Linked DNA regions of Homo sapiens: region 2 is linked to region 1. The links are contacts of gene promoters, found by promoter capture Hi-C in human tissues and cell types (Jung and others, 2019). All regions are on one chromosome and are shown on one strand. Each heading gives the region's core, a stretch centred on a gene start or on the middle of the fragment in contact. The rest is flanking DNA. Distances are from core to core; before and after follow the strand shown. Region 1 holds the start of HS3ST2 (heparan sulfate-glucosamine 3-sulfotransferase 2). Region 2 has its middle 31 kb from the start of MIR3680-1.

Region 1 (7,420 bases), core at 3,573-6,072:
GGAAGGAAGGAGGGAAGGAAGGAAGGAAGGAAGGAAGGAAGGAAGGGAGGGAGGGAGGGAGGGAAGGAAGGAAGGAGGGAAGGAAGGAAGGAAGGAATGAAGGAAGGAAGGAAGGAAGGGAGGGAGGGAGGGAGGGAGGAAGGAAGGAGGGAAGGAAGGAAGGAAGGAAGGAAGGAAGGAAGGGAGGGAGGGAGGGAAGGAAGGAAGGAGGGAAGGAAGGAATGAAGGAAGGAAGGAAGGAAGGGAAGGAGGGAGGGAGGGAAGGAAGGAAGGAGGGAAGGAAGGAAGGCAGGCAAGGAGGGAGGGAGGAAGGAAGGAAGGAAGGAAAAGGAGAAGGGAAAGGGGAGAGAGGGAAGGAGGAAGGGAAGGGAAGGAATAAAGAGGAAAGTATGGAACTATCTTTATAGCAATTGATTAATTCCTCAGCCCGATTTAGTAACAGCAGCAGCATCAGAAACTAATATTTTTAATACTAACAGAACTAATAGTGATAACAGGAGTGTTGTAGTAATTAGTAGCAATAACAGTAGTAACATTACTGCCTTGTCTTTATATATCATAGAATTTTCCAGGGCAATTTCATGTACAGTTTTGCATTTATTCTTCACAACACGTTTCTAGGATAGTTACTACAGGTCCCATTCCATGATGAGGAAGCTGAGACTTGGGAGAATCACCTTTCTTCAAATCATACAGCACCTAGGTGACCACCTCTGGTCTTCTGACTGTGGTTCCCTGTCCTGGTTCCCTCATCAGCCTGGTGTTGCTTTGCCCACCTGTCCAAGCAGCTAGGAGATACCACCCTGCAGCTCTTACCTCGGGGAGGAAATGTGGGTGGGGGAGAACCCAGGCCAGACACATAGTTGAGGTAAGCATCAGAGATGGCATGGCAGAAAGACAGCAAATTGGAGAGAACCCACTGCAGAAGGCTGGGCTCTCTGGTAGTGGCCTGAACGGGAGTGGTTCCCAAGAAGGATCAGGCTAAGGACAAGAAGGTGCAGACTCTGTCTCCTGGTCTCTCCAAATGATGGTGTCTTTCTGGCTATATCACTCGGCCTTCAGCTTTATCTCCATTTACCCACAGAAAGAAGCCCCTCCTTTGGGTTAAGGGTAAAGCTTTTGATTTTTCCACTATCTGGATTTCAGCCTCCTGATCAGGAAGTTATCACCAGGGGCTTTGATGTGGGCAGATCATACTAAGATCCACACTGCCTGCAACTCTGCACCTCCCCCTTTGGAAAGCACAGTCCACTCCAATGGGTGCAAGGGTTCTTTGGCTATGTCTGCCCAGTGGACCCTGGCTTTATGATGGCAAGCTGTGAACTGACAAGGCAGTGGACAGAGAGCGGAACATCCTGTCACCCACCGTACCTAGCTCATGGGATTCAGGAAGAAAGTAAGAACATGGGTTTTAAAAGATTCCAGAAATCCCCATGATTTCTGCAGTTAATGTGTATGACTTGGTCATAATAAAAAGAAATGTACAAAAATGTTCTTTACATACAGAAAGATGTTCTGGAGGTTATGGAAACAGCATCTAAGTGGGGTAGTATTACCCTGCACAGAAATGGCAATCCACAAGCTAAACACTTGACTCTAGGGGTGTGGATTTGTAACTGAAAGAAGCACAAACCACACAGCCTTTTCCTGACACTGGAGCCTCCCAGCCTTCCTGGTCAAGCAATGGGGAGAGGGCAATTACGACCAGACCTCTAGGATAGTCTTTTAGAAATATAAAGTGGGGAAAGGTGGTAGAGGGGGAGAGAAGAGAGAAGCAGAGCTGTCAGCATGCTTGATGTTAAATAAAACCTACCAAGACTCAGCTGAGAATTTTAGCAGAATCCAAATGTGCTAAAAAAAAATAAATAAATAAAAAATAAGACATGGCTTCCCTCTCTAAGGTTCACAGCTAAGCTTGCTTAGAATCACACATGCCAAGGTTAAAAATAAAAAGCAGCCATCCCTGAATGACATGGGCTCCAGGATGGAAGCCTGAGGTATGCTGTTTAGTGGTGGAAGGAAGAGAGGGGAGGGAGGAGAGTCTGGGTTCAGGGCATAGGTATTTATTGGAGGGCACACTATCTGAAAGCCAGATGCTCAGAATTTTGCTGTTTTGCACTTAAAAGGCACTTCGCATTGGCAAAAGGTGTCATAATGATCTTCAGATTTTCCATCGAGGAAATGCTGGCCTGCATTCGAATGTGGTCATGGCTGACCCACTCTGGGCTCTGCTGTTCAATGTGTTTGCCTCCTCCATCCCGGGATCTGACTCAGACAGTGTCCACATGCACCTAGACGGGATGCCCATGAGTCACAGCTTGGAAAGCACAGTGGGCTATTGGCATTGGCATGAAGCCAGATCTGCCACTCTGTGCCACCCTACCCTATTAACCAGACATAATGGTGCTGGGGCCACCCACAGGCTAGCTAGCCCCTGGTTGGCTGCAATGGGGACAGACTATGTGTCTGCCTGCTAAGGATGATGCATGACCCACTCGTCCCCACAACTACAACCATTGCGAGCCAGGAGTAACCTGCAAAGGTGCTAAATCAGGCCTGCGGTCCCCCTACTTTTGGTAAATCCAGGGCCCTCTATTATAAGCCCAGTGGGGTCCTCTTTCTAACAAAGTTGTCCCTTGTCCAATATGCATATGACCTCTACTGCCTAAAGCTGTAGATAAAAACAGCAGATTTAGCCTCAGCTACTCTGTCAGCTACCATGTTACCCCTCCCCAACGTCATTACTATGCAGATGTTTCTAGAAAGTCTTCAAAGGGTCAGGTGAATTGTGAGAATTCTGTGACCTATGTGTTAACAGGGAGCCGGGACATTACACCACCCACATGTGGGCCAGTCCTACACTTCAGCACCATACAGGGCTAGGGAGGCAGAAAGGCATTGAGGCGTGGACGCTGCCACCTCACAGAAGCTTTGGTCTGTGCCTTGACTCCCCCAGTGGGGATAATTCTCCTCCCTGGCATGCATGGGAAGCATAGACAGTCTATGCATGACTGGCTGCCCCTAGCACCCTTGCTAGCCTTCACCCGCAGGGCCCACCTTCAAATTCCACATTTTGGCTGCTGGTTTAGAAGCATCACTTAAAGTGAAGTGCCTTTTTTACACCTTTAAGGCACTTCAGAAAAGCCTTGGAAGGTATACAGGGCAAGGGCTGTTTTCCTGCCCATTGGGATGGATGAGAAAATAGAGGCTGATAGAGTTTAAGAAACTTGCTCAAGCTTAAGTGACAGACCCAAGACTCGAATCCAGGGCTCTTTCCACTACTCAAAGACCACCTACCAGGGCCAGAGCTACTGGGGGTCTCAGCCCCAGTACAGCAGCAAATACCTGGGTTTGAGATTGAGACTCCCTAAGGCATCTTTCTTACTGGAGACCTCTGGCGATGCACTGTCATTTGGCCTGAACTCTGGGGACCTTTCCCAAACAGAGCCTTGCTGCAAGGGGTCTCTGAACTGCCTTATCTTTCTCAGGGTCCTTCAGGGGCTGGGTACCAGCAAAGACCTACAGAGGGTTAGGATGGTGCCGTGTTCAGGCAGCACAGGTCCTCGCCTGTCCCTTCCTTGGGCACCCTAAGGGCTGGTCACAGAGGGAGTTAGCCCTTTAGCTGGCACTTAGGTTTGACTGGAGATAATCCTTTTCCAACGACTCCAGTGACGAGGGAACGCCCTTTGCAGTTCCAGAAACTGCCCGTCTAGATTATCACTGGGAAGTTCTGGGTAAATTCTGCTATAGCCCCCCATGGCCCTGTGTGTCAGCCTGAACCCATACAATGAGTTGGGTTAAAAGAAAGAGAAAACACAAGAGACGGATGGCTCTCCCAATGGAAGCGATCAGAGACCCGGCGCACGGAGCGGAGCTCCTGGTCCTTACCTGTACCAATCCAGCCCGCGGCCGTAGTTCCTGTCAAAGAAGTGGGGTTCCGTGCCCAAGGCCCGCACGTCCGGGTGTACTCGGATAAACTCCAGCACGGCCCGGGTGCCCCCCTTCTTCACGCCCACAATGAGGGCTTGGGGCAACCGCTTGGTACCCAGCTTGGGTGAGCCGGAGTGGTTGGAACCGGAGAGGCGAGGGGCGGGCACGGCGGCGGCGGGCGCGCTGGGAGCGCTGGGCTCGCTGGGCGTCGGCCCGGAGGGATCACAGGGGCGGGACTTCTGGAGAAGTTTCTGGCCGCCCGCGCTGGGGCCGCGGAGGCAGCGAGGCGCGCCGAGGAGGCGGCTCCGACCCAGGTCGTCGCAGCAGCACAGGAAGCTGTAACACAGGTAAGTGCAGGAGAGCGAGAGCGTGAAGGCGAAGAGCAGCCTGCGCGCCCTCCGCGGCTGAGGTGGCCCCGCGCGGCCCAGGACCCTATAGGCCATGGCTCCATGGGCCCGCGCCGGGGGTCATGGTTTCCGAGGGGGCACCGGCGGCTGAGCTGCTGTGGCCCTGCGGTCGCCTAGAGGGCTCGCGTGGCGCTGCCACGGCCACGCGGGTCGGGCGTTGGGGGCGCCGTCTTCTCCGGGGGCTGCTGACCAGGGTGCGCACAGTGCCAGGGGGTCCCGGGGGCAGCGGCTCCTCGGGGAACAGGCGGTTGCATTTCCAGCATCTCCCGGTCCTAGGCGATGGGGCTCCGGGCAGCCGGGCGGCTCGGGCGCTCCCAGGCTCTTACGTGCGCCGGGTTCGGAGCGCGCCCAGCGCCCGAAGCCCCATTCCTGATCCTCGGAGCGCCGCTCACGAAACGCTCGGCGGCGGCGCGGCTGTGCGGGCTGGCGGGTGGACCGGACGGTGGCGCTGGCGCCGGCCGCGATCTGGCTCTTCGGGAAATGCCGAGCGGAGCGCGCTGCCGGCTCTATTTAAGGAGTGGCCTGACGTCAGCCGCGCGGGTCCCCCGAGCCCGCGCCGCGCCCAGGGACCTGGCCCGCCCCCTGCGCCCCCACTCTCTTACCCCTCCCAGAAACACAGCACGCGGGCCCTCCCCATGCAGGCCACTCCCTACGGAGCCCCAGGCCAGCTTTGGGGCGGTGAAACGAAGGTGTCAAGGCATAGTACTCCTCCGGGAGGCTGGACACCCCCACCACGCTGGCCTCTCGACATCCAGGGACACGAATCCAGGTCGAGATCGCGCCGACATGCAGACCAGACAGACCCAGACGCAGACGCAGGCACCCTGCCCTGATGCGCGGTCCCACCACCCTGACCCGCACACGCACGCACAGGCACAGAAGCACACGCGCCCTAGCCCGGACACACCCCCACACCCACGCGGGGGTGGGGAGGAGAAGTCCCCTAACCTGGGCCCAGATACACCGACAAGGACACTCCCCCCGCTCTCGACATCTCGCCAAATGGACACACACAGCCCGGAATCGGACACCGAGCGCACGCACGCCCTGGACTGGGACACGCGCTGTAGACGGGATGGGTGGAGGAGCCGAGCGTGAGTGAGATTCCGTGACTATTCACCCAGCTTCTTAGCCCCCAGCGCGCTGACTCACACCCCGGCGGCTCGCTCTGTCTCGCACCTATGAGGCACGCGCGCACCCCAACCCATTGTCACCCCACCTCTCCCCGGGCCTGCCGGAGAGCGAGCCCCGGAGCGGCAGACTCCGCGTCAGGAGGGTTCCTCTCTTAGCAGCCGCCGCCTAGCGGTAGACTGCTCCCCGGGGAGCTGTCCAGGGTACCAGAGGGTCGCCGAGGGCTGAGTGAGGAGGGCTTCTTCACACAGAGACACTAGGAGGAGGAAACAGAGTACAAGGAGAACGTATCCAGGAGCAATTCCACTTCGAATGATTCCTAAGTGAATGCCTACAGGACAGTTCTCGGTGACCATGTCCAGAACAGGCATAAGTGACGATCCCCAGTACTTCCCTGAGGGACCACACTGGTACCTTGGATCAGAACCCTGCATCAGAACAGGCCTAAATGGCCATGGCTAAGAACACGGCTGAGTTGTCCTTCAACAGCAATGCCAATGCCAATTCACCATGTCCGAGTGTTCACAAGGTGAGTGCCCTCCACCACCACCCAGCCATAGAATGTCTAGATGACCACCATGACCCCCACCCTGATCAGGGTATAACTGACTTCCTTCCTCAGGCTGTAAACTGATCATTAGGTTCTGTGGATCTTAGCCCAAACCAGAAAATATTTTGTCCCCAAACTAGTCCCATCCCTAGAAACCTTAAACCAATTCTACGGCAGATAATAATAATAGCTGCCAACTTTGTATCAAGCACCTGGCATGGGTTAACTGATTAAATATTCACAACCTATGAAGTTGTTACCATTACCCTGGCATCACTTTGCTGTCTTAATTCTAATAGTAGCTAGCATTTATTGAGTGCTTGTTTTATGGGAGTTATGCGCTAATCACTTGACATGCACTACCTCATTTATCTTTGGAGATAGGTATTATTGTAATTTCTAATCTACAGGCAGTGATAAGAAGATTTAACAAACATATACACAGTAACTGGCAGAGCTGGGATTAAACCCGGGCAGTCTTGACTCCAAGATTCAAGCTCTTAGTTACAGCACTTTGCAGCTTCCTAACTTCCTTTGACCATTATTCATATAATTCCATCCTAGGCTCCTCTCCTGGATGTAAGCTAATTTGTCTATGTCTCTTCTAAAATCTCACACCTGGGACTGCGCGAGGAATTTCAGATATGGATTGAAAAGTTCAACAGGACTCTCACCTCTCTTTTGTAAGTTCTATTTCTAGTAATGCCACCTAAGACTCCATTATCTTTTTCTTGTGGCTATATCACACTGCTGACATCTCAAACTTGCAGCCAAGTAACATCTCTAAATGTTTCTTACAAGTGCTGCTGATTAAGGCACAGCTACCCCATACTGTGCTTGTACAGTGGGCCTTTTTGGACCCAATGTGTAGGTCCTTATAGATTTGACTTGATTGCATTTCATCTTGTCTCATCAGTTCGCTGCCCTAGTTTTTTTTAAATGTCTATTTGAAGTCAAACCACGAGGTAGCTTTCATTTATTCAAAAAGAAAAAGTAGAAAGATTGTATCCCAGCTTTACCCTTTATTCCAGGTGTACTTTGGGCAAGTGGACCCCCTTTAAGCCTCAGGTTCCTCAGCTGTAAAATGGGACGCTATGATTCACCTTAAAAGTCTCTCAAAGTTTAGATGTTGCATGATTCTATGATTCCATTACCCAAAGCATGAACCACTCACTTGGCATCATGTAATTTCCACAGTTGATCACAATTTAATTAATTCCTCATTCTAATTGTTAATAAAAATGTCAAAACAAATATACTTAAAGGAGTTCTTCTTCTTCTTTTGGGTGAGGGGAAGTGTCTCACTCTGTTGACCATGCTGGCATGCAGTAGTGCAATCATAGCTCATGCTGCAGCCTCCACTTCCTGGGCTCAAGGGATCCTCCTGCCTCAGCCTCCTGAG
Region 2 (7,420 bases), core at 1,515-4,014, 1.3 Mb after region 1:
CCGCCTGTTACCCATGTGCATAGACCAACACCTCACGGTGCACCCACCTGTTACCCATGTGCACAGACTGACGTCTCACTGTACATCCATCTGTTACCCATGTGCACAAGCAGCCTGCTCCTTCACAGCCCAGCTAGAGTGTGCAATGGGATGTCAACCCAGCTAGACCATGCAATGAGATATTACTTGGCAATCAGAAAGGACACAGCTCTAACTCACGCTGCGGTGTGGGTGAGCCTCAAAAGCACCGTACTAAGTGACAGACGCAAGACACAAATGTTCCACATGTTACATGACTCAGTTCCTATGAAACCCACAGAGACAGAAGCAGCACGGCGGGGGTGGGGAGAAGAGCTAAAAAGTACCAAGCTTCCTCCTTGAGGTGCTGAAAATGTTCTAAAATTGACTTGGGATGGCTGCACAACTGTGAATATACCCAAAACCATAGAATTGTACACTTCAATTTTTATTTACTTTTTCTGGTTTTTTTTTTTTTTTTTTTTTGAGATGGAGTTTCACTCTTGTTGCCCAGGCTGGAGTGCAATGGCATGATCTCAGCTCACTGCAACCTCTGCCTCCCAGGTTCAAGCGATTCTCCTGCCTCAGCCTCCCGAGTAGCTGGGATTACAGGCATGCACCACCACGCCTGGCCAATTTTGTATTTTTAGTAGAGACGCAGTTTCGCCATGTTGGTCAGGCTGGTCTCGAACTCCCGACTTCAGGTGATCCACCCGCCTTGGCCTCCCAAAGTGCTGGGATTACAGGCATGAGCCACTGTGCCCGGCCTATTTACTTATTTTAAGAAAGGATCTCACTCTGTCACCCAGGCTAGAGTGCACTGGTATGATCACAGCTCACTGCAGCCTCAACCTCCGGGGCTCAAGCCATCCTCCCACCTCAACCTCCCAACTACCTGGGACCACAGGCATGTACCACTGCACCTGGCTAGTTTTTGTGTTTTTTGTAGAGTCAGATTCTTGTTATGTTGCTTAGGCTGGTCTCAAACTCCTGGCCTCAAGCAGTCCTCCCACATCGGCCTCCCAAAGTGCTGGGATTACAGGCATGATCCATCGCGCCCAACCAGGTTGTACACTTTAGATGGGAGAGTTGCATGGTATGTGAATTCTATCACAATAATGCTGTGGGTTTTGTTGCTGTTGTTGTTGTTTGAGACCGAGTCTCTCTCTGTTGCCCAGACTGGAGTGCAATGGTGCAGTCTTGGCTCACTGCAACCTCTGCCTCCTGTGCTAAAGCAATTCTTGTGTCTCAGACTCCCGAGTAGCTGGGATGACAGGCACCTGCCACCATGCCTGGCTAATTTTTGTATTTTTAGTAGAGACGGGGTTTCGCCATGTTGGTCAGGCTGGTCTTGAACTCCTGACTTCAGGTGATCTGCCTGCCTTGGCCTCCCAAAGTGCTGCAATTACAGGCATGAGCCACTGTGCCCAGCCTATAATGCTGTTTTTTTTTTTTAATTAACTGGATAATTATAAACGTGAACACGTGTGCACAGAACTGATGCATGTGTCTGCCGGCGTGGACACTCCTGGGCTTCCTTCTGGTAGCTCAGCCGCCTCTCTTGACCCTGACCCTCACTGCTTGATGTTAGGAGACAAGCCCAAGGCATCTAGGTTGCTGGCTTCCACCTTGGAAGGCCAGGGCCCAGCAAAGTCAAGGTGATGTGATGTGGCTGAGCAGGGAGGCCATCTTCCTTCCAGACAGAGACTCTGTCACTTTGGACTGGACTCTTGTCCCACAGTGCTGGCCAGGGACAGGTGCAGAGTTGTGCTTGGTTGGCATGGGACGCTGATGAGGGCTGTGTTGCGGCCAGGCCCAACCACCATGAGCCGAGATCATGCCACGGCACTCCAGCCTGGAAGACAGAGTGAGACTCTGCCTCAAAAAAATAAAAAAAATAAAAAGTTATAAATAGAACTACCCTATGATTCAGCAATCACACACTTCTGGGTATATATCCAAAAGAGCTGGCTGGGCACAGTGGCTTATGCCTGTAATCCCAATATTTTGAGAGGCCAAGGCAGGAGGATCACTGGAGCCCAGGAGTTGGAGAACAGCTTGGGCAAGATGGCAAGACCCCCTGGCTACAAACAATTAATTTTAAACCCTGGTATGGTGTCCTAGCTACTTGGGAGACTGACGCGGGGGGATCACTTGAGCCCAGGAATTAGAGACTGCAGTGAGCTATGATGGCATCATTGCACTCCTGCCTAGTTGACAAAGTAAGACCCTGACTCTTTTTTTTTTGTTTTTTGGCTGTGAGTGTATTCAATGCAAAATAATCCTCTCTAATTTTACGGAGGTGGCTGGCCATGTCCACGACCAAATCTGCCTCTAAACTGGAATTCGGTTGCTGACCCAGCCCGAGCCTCAGCTTTCTTATCGGCACCAGGGGCACAGCACTCCGTCTGTAGGTATGTCTGTCGGCTTCCCCTCTTGTGAGTCTTGCAGGTCGCCCACCCTCCAGACCTTTAGGCCGAGGCCTGCCAGTCCCTGGACGGCTGCAGCGTAGGGTGGCAGGCACAGTTTCCAGGGACAGATGAAGGTAATCACGGAGATACTGGATACCCTGATCGGTAAGGTAGCAGTAGAAATGTCTCCAGGCAAGCCAGGCACGGTGGCTCATGCCTGTAATCCCAACATTTTGGGAGGCCGAGGTGGGCGGATCACGAGGTCAGGAGATCGAGACCATCCTGTCTAACATGGTGAAACCCCGTCTCTACTAAAAATACAAAAAATTTGCCGAGCGTGGTGGCGGGTGCCTATAGTCCCAGCTACTGGGGAGGCTGAGGCAGGATAATGGCATGAACCCAGGAGTTCAAGCTGGTCTTGAACTCCAGGAGGCGGAGCTTGCAGTGAGCCGAGATCACACCACTGCACGCCAGCCTGGGTGACACAGCGAGACTCTGTCTCAAAAAAAAAAAAAAAAAAGCAACAATGCAGGGACTCCTGACACATGCTCCAATGTGGATAAACCTGAAGGACATTATGCCCAGTGAAATAAGCCAGACACAAAAGACAAAAACCACAGGATCCCACCCACATCAGGTCCCCAGAGTCCTCAGATTCAGAGAGATGGAAGCAGAATGGTGGGTGCCAGGCCTGGGGGAGGAAGCTGGACATAGTGTTTAGTGGGGTCAGGACAGAATTTGAGTTTGGGATGATGGAAAAGTTCTGGAGACGGATGGTGGAGATGGTTGCACCACAATGTGACTGCATTTAACGCCATCAAATTTTACACTTCAAAATGGTTAAGATGGGCCGGGCATGGTGGCTCATGCCTCTCATCCCAGCGCTGTGGGAGGCTGAGGCAGGTGAATCACCTGAGATTGGGAGTTCAAAACCAGCCTGACCAACATGAAGAAACCCCGTCTCTACTAAAAATACAAAATTAGCAGATGTGGTGGCGGGTGCCTGTAATCCCAGCTACTCAGGAGGTTGAGGCAGGAGAATCACTTGAGCCTGGGAGGCGAAGGGTTGCAGTGAGCCAAGATCGCACCATTGCACCCCAGCCTGGGCAACAAGAGCAAAACTGCATCTCAAAAAAAAAAAAAGGTTAAGACGGTAAATTTTATGTTATGTATATTTTATCACAATAAAAAGTAATATTTTTTGCAGCCAAGGTATGCTAAAAGAAATGGCTTTTTAATTTTTTATTATTTATTTATTAATTATTATTATTATTTGAGACAGAGTCTCACTCTGTTGCCCAGGCTGGAGTGCAGTGGCGTGATCTCAGCTCACTGCAACCTCTGCCTCCTGGGCTCAAGCAATTCTCTTGCCTCAGCCTCCTGAGTAGCTGGGACTACAGGCGCCCACCACCACATCTGGATAATTTTTGTATTTTTAGTAGAGACAGGGTTTCATCATGTTGACCAGGCTGGTCTCGAACTCCTGACCTCAAGTGATCCACCCGCCTCGGCCTCCCAAAGTGCTGAGATTACAGGGGTGAGCTACTGCGCCCCAAGAAATGACTTCAAAAGGAAAAATGTAAGCACCAACATAAGCTGGTGTAATGTAATGTAATTCCCACCAATGTAAGTTGGCAGGAATCCTTGCTCTGTATAGAAGGCTCACATTTTCTTATCACTGCTTCCAAGTGTGACAGCAGTGGCCTCATGGCCTTATCTCGGGGAAAGCACTTCCTTCCAAGCACCATGAAGGCCTCCCGTGCTGAGACAAGATGGAAGCTCCTAGTCCCACCTGAGGACTGATACGGCCTGTGCTTCTCGGTCTCTCAGGACGCGCAGGCGGCCATGCGCCCCTTCGACCCCTCCGCTCTGCTGCCCACCTGCTGGGATTACTGGACCTATGTGGGCTCGCTCACCACCCCGCCGCTGACCGAGTCGGTCACCTGGATCATCCAGAAGGAGCCCGTTGAAGTGGCCCCAAGCCAAGTGAGCCGTGCCCGTAACTGGCATGATGGCGCTTCATGGAAGGCGTCTCTCTTGCTTGGCAGCGTCACTAAGATGCTGCATAAGAGCCTTGAGGAGTTATATATATTCTTTCATGCATTTGGGGTGTTCTTACACAAGAAGAAAGTTCCAATTGAAGTAGGAGCTTGTTGAGATTGGACAGCGGTTCCAGTGATCACAGCGAGCATGTTCTGAGCAACGCCCTAATCTATCACACACAGACACACAAGGCATCCATGGGAGTTGTCCCAGCGTCATGGGTCTGCATGGTTTTTGTTTTCTTCCTTTTTCTTTTCTTTCCTTTTTTTTTTTTTGAGACAGAGTCTCGCTCTGTCGCCCAGGCTGCAGTGCAGTGGCTCGATCTCAGCTCACTACTACCTCCACCTCCTGGGTTCAAGCAATTCTCCTGCCTCAGCCTCTCGAGTAGCTGGGATTACAGGCACCCATCACCACGCCTGGCTAATTTTTGTATTTTTAGTAGAGACGGGGTTTCACCATGTTGGCCAAGCTGGTCTTGAACTCAGGTGATCTGCCCACCTTGGCCTCCCAAAGTGCTGGGATTCCAGGCATGAGCCACCGAGCCCGGCCTCCTTTTTCTTATCTAAATAGTTTCATTGCTTTTTTTTTTTTTCGAAAATTAGTTAATAATCCTTGTATACATTTTTAAAAGTTATACTATTGGGCTGGGCGTCATGGCTCATGCCTATAATTTTAGCACTTTAGAAGGCTGAGACAGGCAGATCACTTGAGGCCAGGAGTTCGAGACCAGCCTGACCAACATGGTGAAACCCCGTCTCTACTAAATCTACAAAATTAGCCAGGCGTGGTGGTGCACGCCTGTAATATCAGCTACTTGGGAAGCTGGGGCAAGAGAATAACTTGAAGCCGGGAGGTGGAGGCTGCAGTGAGCCGAGATCGCACCACTGCACTCCAGCCTGGACAACAAGAGCAAAACTCCATCTCAAATAAATAAATAAATAAAAATACAAAAATTAGCCAGGCATGGTGGCGTGTGCCTGTAGTGCCAGCTACTTGGGAGGCTGAGGTAGGAGAATCACTTGAACCTGGAAGGCGGAGGTTGCAGTGAGCTGAGATGGCACCACTGCACTCCAACCTGGGCGACAGAGTGAGACTGTCTCAAAAAAATAAAATAAAAAATAAATAAAAGTTATACTATCATTTTTTTCTGGAAATCTTAAGAATCTATAGCAATTCTGTCTGTCCAAGGCAGTTCAGAGCCACAGGCATGCTGCCTATGCCCCGCCCCCGCCCGGCAGACGTTTCTCAGCAGTCGCAGCAGGACTTAGCATCTCTGGCTCATCTCTTTCTGAGGGCTCCAGGTGAGCTCTTAGAGGGTCTTTCAGTCTCCTGGGCCTGTGAAAATATTCCCTTATATACAAACCATGGCATGATGTCATTTGCACGTGGAGATGTGGGATGCAGAATATCTGCCTACCTCCAAACCAGAGCTGTTGGACATGGGGAAGGCTTTTGTTGAAGGTGGCCCCTTGTCAGCAAGGCCCTTATGCTACTCAACAAGCATATATGTGACAAGTGCCCATTCTGGGTCTGTGCCACCAAGAGAGGGTGGGAGGGGGGCAGGTGTGGAGGGGCGGCACAGGAACAGGGCATTCGTCTCAGAATACTGCTGTCTGGCAGGAAAGTAGAAACGAAGCCAATAGTATTAAGCCAGGGTGGCCGGTGTCATATAAAAATGCAGGGCAGGAGCTCCTTATCCTGAGCAGGGGAGCCAGGGAGGCACATGTCCTGGAAGGCGGGGAGTTTTCCAGGGGAGGAGAAAGGCTGCCTTTCTGAGACAGTCAACAAATGTGCAGACCACAAATGTGGATGAGCACACTGTGGTCATGGCCCAGGAGGCCACGTGCACCATGCGCGCGCAATTCTAGGGGGCGCTGGATCATCATGCAGGGCTAACTGGCCCAGTATGCTGTCAGCATGTAGACATAATCTCACTTCTGAATTTAATTAAATGCGTGAGTTGCCTCACAGAGTTCATAAGTATATTCTGTGAACAAGTGAGATAATACATAAAAAGTCTTTTTTTATTTTTCATTTATTTATTTATTTTGAGACAGAGTTTCCCTGTTGCCCAGGCTGGAGTGCAATGGCGTGATCTCGCTCACCACAAGCTCCACCTCCCAGGTTAAAGCGCTTCTCCTGCCTCACCCTCCCGAGGAGCTGGATTACAAGCATGAGCCACCACATCTGGCTAATTTTGTATTTTTAGTAGGGATGGGGATTCTCCATGTTGGCCAGGCTGGTCTCAAACTCCTGACCTCAGGTGATTCACCCACCTTGGCCTCCCAAAGTGCTGGGATTACAGGCATGAGGCACTGCATCCAGCCATAAAAAGTAGTCTTTTAGTTCCTTGAGTGAAAAGTAAATTCAAATGTTACTTTAGCATTTACATTATAGGTGTTAGTTATCTATTGCTGTGTAACAAATAGCTCCAAAACATAGTGGCTTTAGAAAACAATCATTTGGGCCGGGTGCAGTAGCTCATGCCTGTAATCCCAGCACTTTGGGGGCCGAGGCGAGTGGATCGCCTGAGGTCAGGAGTTCAAGACCAGCCTGACCAACATGGTGAAACCCTGTCTCTACTAAAAATACAAAATTAGGCTGAGCACAGTGGCTAACGCCTATAATCCCAGTACTTTGGGAGGCCGAGGCAGGTGGATAACCTGAGGTCAGGAGTTTGAGAGCAGCCTGACCAACATGGAGAAACCCCATCTCTACTAAAAATACAAAATTAGCCGGGCGTGGTGGTGCATGCCTGTAAGCCCAGCTACTCAGGAGGCTGAGGCAGGAGAATCCCTTGAACCCAGGAGGCGGAGGTTGCGGTGAGCAAAGATCACACCATTGCACTCCAGTCTGGGCAACAGGAGCAAAATTCCATCTCAAAAAAAAAAAAAAAAAATTAGCCGGGCATGGTGGCTCATGCCTGTGATCCCAATTACTCGGGAGGC

The links. Contacts are between HindIII fragments. The study calls those that stand out against the background at their distance.
Region 2: a fragment that was not itself captured here is called in contact with the fragment with the promoter of HS3ST2 in region 1 in 1 of the 25 tissues and cell types used here (heart right ventricle).

The regions. Positions count from the first base shown.
Region 1 is chr16:22,811,564-22,818,983 of GRCh38, reverse strand. It overlaps HS3ST2 (heparan sulfate-glucosamine 3-sulfotransferase 2), which reads right to left and starts at 4,822. Exons shown (of 2, transcript NM_006043.2): 1 at 3,889-4,822. The coding sequence starts at 4,373. LOC107984851 (collagen alpha-1(XVI) chain) reads left to right here and starts at 4,125. Exons shown (of 4, transcript XR_001752349.2): 1 at 4,125-4,277; 2 at 5,720-5,997; 3 at 6,583-6,701. The HindIII fragment of the contact is 6,010 bases long and covers 3,084-7,420 here.
Region 2 is chr16:21,533,693-21,541,112 of GRCh38, reverse strand. It overlaps the pseudogene LOC646828. Among named protein-coding and RNA genes, the nearest start is that of MIR3680-1, 31 kb to the right of the region's middle. RefSeq lists enhancers at 1-101, 2,108-2,607, 2,608-3,109. The HindIII fragment of the contact is 5,817 bases long and covers 1-5,672 here.